2 separate regions of the Homo sapiens genome follow, and region 1 is linked to region 2. The links are contacts of gene promoters, found by promoter capture Hi-C in blood cells and fetal thymus (Javierre and others, 2016). All regions are on one chromosome and are shown on one strand. The core of a region is centred on a gene start or on the middle of the fragment in contact, and the rest is flanking DNA. Distances in the headings are between cores, read along the strand shown.

Evidence for each region. Contacts are between HindIII fragments. The CHiCAGO score rates a contact against its expected background, and 5 or more counts as called.
Region 1: a fragment that was not itself captured here is called in contact with the fragment with the promoter of C14orf180 in region 2 in 1 of 17 cell types (endothelial precursors); the score reaches 5.1 in endothelial precursors.

The regions. Positions count from the first base shown.
Region 1 is chr14:104,335,614-104,340,167 of GRCh38, reverse strand. No RefSeq gene overlaps it. Among named protein-coding and RNA genes, the nearest start is that of LINC02691, 110 kb to the right of the region's middle. The HindIII fragment of the contact is 3,813 bases long and covers 293-4,105 here.
Region 2 is chr14:104,578,279-104,582,931 of GRCh38, reverse strand. It overlaps C14orf180 (chromosome 14 open reading frame 180), which reads right to left and starts at 3,168. Exons shown (of 5, transcript NM_001008404.3): 1 at 2,929-3,168. The HindIII fragment of the contact is 16,067 bases long and covers 1-4,653 here.

The DNA.
Region 1 (4,554 bases), core at 950-3,449, 240 kb after region 2:
TTTGTTTGTTTGTTTGTTTTTGTTTTGGTTGAGATGGGGTCTATCTGTCATCCAGGCTGGAGTGCAGGGGCACAATCATAGCTCACCACAGCCTCAATCCCCCAGGCTCAAGCAATTGTCCTGCCCCAGCCTCCCAAGAAGCTGGGATTACAGACATGCACTGCCACTCACTGCTAATTTTCAAAAAGTTTTGTAGAGACAGGGTCTCACTATGCTGCCCAGGCTGGTCTTGAACTCTTGAGCTCAAGTGATCCTCCTGCCTTGGCCTCCCAAAGTGCTGGGATTACAAGCTTGAGCCACTGTGCCTACTCAGAAATGCCTTTTGAAAATCCTCTAGGGAATTCTGATTGTGATCATAGACTGAACATATGCATCTCACTTTCTCTCCACACTCCTACTAAAACTATAATGAGAGGTTTTTTAATGACATAAACTCTTAGGGATGAGAAGAACACAACAGGAAGAGGGGAAGTGTACTTTATGACAGACTAAATCATAAACAACTAACAGTAAACAGTAAAACACAACAAAATTTTGGAAGCTGGAAAGCAGATAGACAAGTGCTAACTGCCTTAGCAGACTTGAGAAAGACAACTCCTGAGCCAGCAAGGGAAAAACTGTGAATAAGTCTGATTTGCTCCCAAGAATATTTAAAATCTCAGGAACTGGCAGCAGCAGGTGTCTCTAGGACTGACGATGAAGGGGGAGTGGCAGAGCCAGGACTAGGATGAGGCTAACAAGATGCCAGAGCACAACACTTAAGGAGCAACATCCTTAGCCATTAGAGAAGTGCAAATTCAGACCATGATGAGATACCACTACATACCAGTTGAACACCTAAAATGAATAGTGATAATACCAAATGCTGGGGAGGATGTGGAGAAACTGGAGATCACTCATACATTGCTGGTGAGAATTTAAGGTAGTACAACCACCTGGAAAACAGTCTGGCAATTTCTTATGAAACCAAACGTACTCTTACCCTATGACCCAGCAATTACACTCTTGGTCGTTTACCCTAAAAAATAAAAATTTATATTCACATGCAAAATCTGTACACTGTTGTTCATAGCAGCTTTATTTGTAATAGCCAAAACCTAGAAACAACCAAAATTTCCTGTAATAGGTGCATGGTTGAACAAATTGCTGTACATCTATGCTATGGAGTATTAGCAATAAGAAGGAGCACTGTTGATGCATGCAGTAACTCAGATGGCTCTCAAGGGAATTGTGCTGGGAGGGGGGACAATCTCAAAAGGTCACATGCTTTACAACTTCATTTATACAACATTCTCAAAATGACAAAATTATAGAGATTGAAAAAAGATTAGTGGTTGCTAGTTTTCTCTAGAAAATAGGAGAAAAGTGAAAGGACTATCCAGTATGGTGGTGAGGGAAGATCCAGGCATACAGGGCAACCAGTCTAGATCAGAGCAGATTTTTCAGGACACCAGAATATTGAAGGTTGTCAGGGCTGATGAACCATCTTTTCACATCATTTACCCACAAAATGGTTCATGCCAAACAAGGGAGCAAACCAAGAAAGGAAGACATGAATGAGATCCAGGAAACAGGGACCCCCACCTGGGAGAAAAGCATCAGCAGAGGCAAGTCCCGGGACGAAGTGTGCAGCCAGCCCAGATGAGAGGAGAAAAAGATCTTCAGGCAGAGGGTTTACAGGAATATGTGATGTGGAAAAGTGCACAAAAAGGACATTTGAAGATGTGGGAAGAATTAGTAATAGGTTAGAAAAAAAAAAAGTAAGCAAATCAAAAAGCAAGGCAATGAATAACTTTAGGAAACACAGAAAGTAAAAAAGGAAACATAATTGGAGTATACTATAATGTTAGGCTGAGCTATGAATGTTATATAGACAATGTAAAGGTACAAACTTTACTTAAGCAAAAATTGTAGTATAACTATACTGGAAGAGAAGAAAGGAGAGCACAGGAGCTAGCAGAATGCAAGGGCTAAATTCTCATCACTGTAACAGGAAATTTTAAAAATTATATTCTAAATGAATTAATAAAAAGGCAGCAATATATACACAATATTTAGAAAAATGCAGATGTGTAAATGCCAGAACAAAAAAATTTTAAGTCAATCATGGTTAATTCTAGAGGTGACACTGGCAGGATCAGGGAAGAGAAGATCAGTGAACATACCATTTAGTACTGTGTGAGTTTTGTTGTTTCAGCTATATACATGCTCAATAATAGACAATTGGATTAGATAGGATTGGACTGGATTTAAATTGTATTTATCTATTAAGTCAAAATAAAATAATATGATATCATTTTACTACAACCAAATTTGCACAAATTAAGAAGCAGATCAATTCTAGGTACTGGAAAGGATGAGTGGGCAATAGGATGTCTCAGCCACAGCTGTCAGAGCTACACTTACTTTGGAAAACAGTTTCTCACACCTAGTAGAGGTGACTTGCACATAACTAAAAAGCCAGCAACTCCTCACCGGGTGCCATCTCTAGAGGACCCCAAACCTTTTCCAACTCCTGGCAGAAAACAGCAGTACTTATATGACACAATGGAGTAAATGGGCGAGGCTGCTCCAGGCTGCAAGGCCAGACAGAAAGTCCAGGGTCCAAGCTGCTCCAGCCCTGCTGGCTGCTCAGACAGAGTGGGGCCCCATTGCTTAAACATGCCTGCACCCCAATCACAGCATTCCAGCAGGCTCACCCAGAGAAAGGCTCATGCACACGCACCTGGAGATGTATACCAGGATGTTTATAGCAGCACTGTGATTGTAAAAAGCCTGCAGACAACATAAATGTCCATCAGCGATAGAACTGATCAACAAATTGTGACATATTCACACAACGGAGTACCCAACAGCAATAAAGACTAATGAACTGCACCATAAACATTCAAATGGATAGTCCTCATGCATATAGTATTGAATGAAAGACCAAGACACAAACGTTATATATGAAGAAGGTTCTATTTACATAAGGTCTAAAAGCAGCTCAAACAAGACAATATGTTATTTAGGATCACAGATATAAATGGCAAAAACGATCAAGGAAAACAAGGGAAAGATGAACACAAATTCAAGTTCGCATTACCCGGGAACACTGGGGATTGAAGAAGAGAGTATGATTAGGGAGGAGCATTCCGTGGGCTGTTGAGGCTCCGGGAGGATTTTATCCAAGTGGTGGCTACAGAGGAGTTTACATGATTATTAATCTTCTTTTTCTTCTTTAAACCATATACATACATTTTATACTCTTATATATGCCATATAAAATGTTAATAAAATTAAAATGATTAGCAAGAAAATAAGCAAAATGCAATAGTTAATACTGTAATCCTCTTACTCTCCTCTCCAACCATACAGGATCTGAGAATACTTTCACTCCCAACACTGACCTCCTATCTATATGTAATTATTATCAAGCATTTTATTTCTACCTTGTTCTTTTTAGTCAGACATTACCACCATGGCTTCATATTGTCAATGTTTACTGAAGTGTACCCACATGTCTCACCTTTCTTTGCTTGCTATTCTTTCTTTTGCTTTAGAACATCCTCCTAGATCATTTTCCCTCTTCCTAAAGTAGGGATTATTGTTAACAAATTCTTCCCACTTTTAGCTGAAAATATCCTTATTCATTCCAGGTCTTAAAAATATTTTTTTTCTCAGGCATGTGACTGTAGGTCATGCATAGATTACCAGTTGCCCCCAATATCTGCGGTCCCCTTCTTCAGTAATAGAACACACAATTTTCACTGGGCAGGTGTCTTCCAGGAATAAAGGCTACATTGCCCAGCCCTGTTTGCAGTGCGGTCTGCCATGTGACTAAGATCTGGCGATGGAAAGGAAACCTCAGGAATAAAGGCCATGCATGGTGGAGCAACAGGACAGAAGCAGCCACGGCTCCTGATGCCAAGTTCACAACAGCAGCCCTGGACCTGCCCCCTTCCAGCTTCAGAAACACACAGACAAACACACAGACAAATACACTTCTATCATGTTGAAGTCATGATTATTGGGGAGCTTTCTATTCTATCCAGCAGAACCTAATTCTAATTAGATATAGGAGTGAGAGGCAGCAGAAAATCCTCTGAAAACAAATACAGAAGCTTCCAGCCCATTACTTGCCCCCTTGGCTGGGTGCTCTGTGCTCACTGGTTAATCTTCACAGAAGCCCTGTGAGGAGCACACATGTCCCCTGTTTATCAGAACAAGAAACCGAGTCCCACAGACGGTGCGTGGCTTGCTTGGCATTGCACACAGTGTGCCTTGGGCTCCATGTGGCTGGTGCTCTCTGCTCCTCTCCAAACGGATCCCTTTCTTCCAGGGCCCAGGGCCCAGGGTCCCGCAGAAGACAGTGGGCAGACAGTCTCAGGCCATCGACAGGATGCTGGCAGACGTGTGAGGGAACATCTCCCCCACCCTGGCGTCTGGGAATGGAAGCTGCCAAAGACCCAGCACTAGGCTGGGCTCTGGTCTCAGGACCCCCAGACTAAGTCGCTGTGTGACCCCAGACAAAGCTCTCCACTTCGCAGGGACCCGCTTCCTCCACCTGCGAAT
Region 2 (4,653 bases), core at 1,919-4,418:
AGTGGCTCTGGCATGCTCGGCAGGTGGGGGCGGGGAGGCCTGGGGCCTCTGGCAGGGACAGTGTGTAACTGGAGGCCTCGTGACAGATGGGAGATAAAGGGCGGAAAATAGCTTCAGAGCCTGGACCTGTAAGTGTCCCGCTAGGCCCGCTGCTGGGGAGGGCGCGTCCACCCGAGGGGACTCTACCCCCACTCTGGGAACAGGAACCCCATGGCGCCTCCCTTGGTGCTGGGGGGCTGGGGGGTTCTTACCAGCTCCTCTACTGAGAGGGGGCACCGAGCTCCCTGGCGGAGGGGAAACTGAGGCCCAGAGAGGGAGAACAGCCTGCCAGGTTTCAGAGCCTGGGTTGGGACAGAGGCGGGAGTCAGGGCCCGGAGCTCCCAGTTGTGGGCATGACCAGCCCGTACTGCTGGTGGGAGGTGGGGCCATGAGGGCTGAGGCCCAGGACCTTGGTCTGGGGTGTGACCCTCCAACAGTCTTTGGGGGTCTAGCCCAGTACCCCAAAGACCCCACCTCATCTTGAAGCTGCTGAGAGACGTGAGGGCACTGATGGAGCCCAGCGGCCGTGGCAGTGCCGAGTCCCTCCCCCTCGAGACCAGCCTGCAGTGGGGCGTGGGGGCGGGCCAGTGGTTCTTGCCTGGTTCTGTGGCTTGGATAACGCCAAGCTCTGGGGCCCAGCCACTGCTGCTCCCTCCCACTCCTGCCCCGTCCTCCAGGACGCCGCCCGCTGGCTTCCCGCCTCCTCCCAGGCTGCTGCCTCTGCCTGGCCCGTGCCGCCCGCCCTTTTGCCCACAGCCCACCTCCTGATGTTTCTCTGTCCTCCCTGAGGGTTCCTCGGGGCGGGCAGTGCCCCCCATGCAGCAGCTGGCTCGTGAGAAATCCTGACATCCCACCCACCCCACATGGGAGGTCCTTCCTCGGCTCTGAGCGTGCGGCCCCACACTCCCGGCTCACCCCTCGCCTGGCACTGCCCTTCCTCGGCTCTGAGCGTGCGGCCCCACACTCCCGGCTCACCCCTCGCCTGGCACTGCACCCATTCACACGGCAGCCTCACAGCCTTCCAGGGGCAGAGGGTCCCGGGGCCTGAGCGAGTGCAGGCTGGGGCCAGGCTCCCTGTTTCCCTGTTCCAGGTGCAGCCTCCCCCAGGGCAACTCACTTGGGAGCTGGAGACAGGGGGCCAGGCTCCTGGGAAGCCAGAGACCTCCCTGGGAGAAGCTGGAGACTCACAGCCCCCACCCCCACCACTTACACACACACACATACATACTCTCTCTCTCTCTCTCTCTCTCTCTCTGCCCCTGCCCACCTGGGCTCCTGCTGGTGCTGTACCTCCGGGGTGGCTCAGGCCTGATCAGCCCCGAGATCCACTGGCGGTCACAGCCTCGCTGTCGCAGGGTGTGAACCAGAGCTGTTGCGGCTCACAACCAGCTGAGAAGTTTCCATTACGGCGACACTGAGCAGTGGCCTCAGCGGCCCTGAGGGCCCCGGCTGACTTGCTGCTCTCGGGACAGCCCGGTCCATGGGGAGGCCGTCAACCACGGGCTTGGTGGCCCCAGGAGGAGCTGGGCCTCCTCAGTCTCCCAGCACCTTAGTAGTTTGGCCACAGGCCTAACCCAATGGCCCTGGGGCTGCAGATGCAGGTTGTGCCTTCTTCCGGTGGAAGAAGACTGGGACCATGGACACTGCCTCGCTGGCCTTTCCTCTGCAGGGCGGAGGCAGAACACAGCCAGGCGGGGTGGCTGGGCTCCTGGGAAAAGCCTTGGCTCCCAGCCCAACGCTCACCACTGGAACCACGCTGGCAGCTCCCCAGACAACATGCGTTCTCGACTTAAGTAAGAGGGAGAACTTGTGGGGAGGCCCCTGGCTGGGCTGACCGCCCACTGGGCTTGCTCAGGTGCCTGCAGGCCCTACCAGGTAGGAACAGGAGCAGGAGCTGCCTGGTGGCCCCCTGAGGCCCCTCTCCATGCCTAGATGGGCCCTCACATCCCGAGGTGCAGTTAGGGCTCGAGGTAGCAGCAGTACCGGGTGATGGCTGCTCATCTGCTGGGTGCAGGGGCCACCCTAGGCCTCGAGAGCTCCAGACAGACAGGGCGGGGGACCCCCCCAGGCCCTTCCTCCCATATGTGGAATGGGGGCTGTTTGCCAACTGTCCAGGGCACTGCAAAGCTCAGTAGTGCCCAAGAAATGGCGTGGCGTCCAGTGCTGGGTGGGGGTCCCATGGCCACACAGGGCAGGACAGGGATTCCTTCTGACTGACGGCTCAGAAAAGAGCCAGTTCTCAGGGATTCCCAAACACTGAGAACTAGGCTTCAGTTACTGGAGTAACGAATCCATTCCTGCTAGGCTGGGCCTGCGTAGACTTGCCCTCGGAGGATGCCCCCCACCAAGGCCCTTCAGGGAAGGCTGGCTGGGTTCATGCCTGGCACGGCTGCCTGCATTCCCCTGAGAGTGCAGCCCCTTCTCCCACTGCCCAGGCTGTTTCGCGCAACATCAGGTGCCCTTTGGAAGCTCCTGTGTGGCCAGGAGCACCCCCGCTGCTAAGTTTGAAGTGGCCGTGTTCCCTGCTTCCCCCAGAGGCGGCCTGGCCTCAGTGTGGACACAGGGCCGGCCTGGGACTGTCTCCGTTTTAGGGAAACCATCAGTCCCAGGAGAAGGGGGAAGGGTGGCCACTCTGGAGCTTGTTCAGGTCACTCAGGATCATCAGTGTGTGCTCTGCCCAGTCTCTGCCCACACCTGCTGCCCAGCTGGGGCAGGTTCCCCACCTGCACCTGCCTTTGGCAATCTCTCCGCTCTGCCCAGTCTCTGCCCACACCTGCTGCCCAGCTGGGGCAGGTTCCCCACCTGCACCTGCCTTTGGCAATCTCTCCGCTCTGGCATCTTCATACCCAAGCAGGAAGTGAGCCCCCTCTCCCTGGGGCTGGAACTCACCTGGTTCCCTCCTGGCTCCCCGAGGGACAGAAACAGGCTCTTCGGGATCTCCCTGTGGGGCACAGTCCAGTGAGGTCCTGGACCCTCTTGGCCGGCAGCACCCCTCCCAGGCCCTTGAGAGTTGAGCCTCGGGCAGAACTGCAGGGCACACAGGTGAACGGGCCAGGCCCGCCCAGGCCTCCTTCCCGAGGGCTCTGATCTGGAGGCGCCACCGCCCGCTGGCAGGGCCGGGTCTGTTGTGGCCTTCGTCCCGTCTCCAGCCCTCTCTGCTGGATCGCAAAGCTGGGCCAGCTGGCAGCGGCCAGGCTATAATTACCTCTCCCCTTTGGCAGAAATAGCAGTGAACCCGAGGACAGGCCGCTGGCCCCGGAGCAGAAGGGGGTGGCTGTTTCCCAGGCCCCCGGTGGACAACAGACCATGATTTCAGATAAGACCAGAGTTTGCTGCTGTTCCTACCCCTCCCGGCCCAAATGTGCCCCCTCCCAGGTCAATTCCAGAGCTGTGCAGCTCTTGGAAAAACCTATGGATTGGAATTCGGGGCAGAGTGGGAGAGGGAGGGCACTGTGGGGCTGCGGGAGGTGAGGTGATCACAGAGTCCAGCCTCCAATAAGACCCTGACCCAGCATGGGGCCTCCGTGGTGGCGAGAGTGCCCGCCCTGCCCCAGGCCCCTGTGCCCCTGTGAGTCCTGACCTGGGGTTGCCAGAGGGAGAGGCAAAGAATGGGTCCCAAGCTGCCGTTTTGGGGCACACTGGCCGACCCTCGATATTGCCCTGGCAGGAAGGGGCAATGTATGGGTCAGTGAGCGATGGCAGGGGTGAGGGATCAGCCTTTCTCAGGGTCTGTCCTGGGTGGGCGTCCAACTGCCCTGCCTGGCGCTGCTGAGTCTGCCCCTCATTTGTAGGTGAAAGTGCAGCTCAGAGAGTTGAGGCACCCTGTCCAGAGTCACACAGCCCGGAGGTGGTAGCCTGGCTCAGGCTTGGTGGCCCGTCCTCGCCAGCCCCCCCGTCTGCTGGTGCATGTAAAGGCAGGTCTGAAAGAGGCTGGTGAGGGCATCACTGGCGCAGGGCACCACCACATGTGGGCAGACCCCTGCCTGGTTTGTGGGGCTTTGACCTGTTTCAGGGGACTGCTGGAGGAGGTGTGGAGAGACCCGTGTTTCTCCATTAGGAATGGGGGTGCATCTCCCTTGGGTAAAGCTACAGGACCCCTGGGAGCCCAGGGTGTGCCAGGCTGGGGGACAGTGTGCACAGAGGGTGACTGCTCAGGGCCAGCCGTGGGGCTGCATGGACACAGAGTCCTGGAACCCACCGTCAGAGCATGAGCAACGCAGCCACTGGGATGGGGTTCAGCAGACCGGCCCTCCCCTCACTGCCGTCTTCAGTACAGGGCATGGGGGAGCAAACTTTTCTCTTACAGGGCCATATGGCACACAGTGCGCTCTGTGTCTACACAAACGGGGTGGGCCAGATTGGCAGGAGGGCCTTGGCTCGCTGACGCTTGTTCCAGGGAGAGCACTGAGGAAGGCTGGGTGGTCCTGCTGGCAGTCTGGCTTCCTGGGAAGAGTGAGGTCCTGTAGCCAGACAAGACCCTCTCCCGCCTGTGCCCAATCTGGGCGCTTATCCTTGGCTTCCCAGGGCTGGAGCTGCTCCTCCCAGATTTCAGAGGTCAGGCTGCACTGCCCGAGGTCGGGGGGCTCCGGGACAACTCCTTCCTGACCCTTCTCA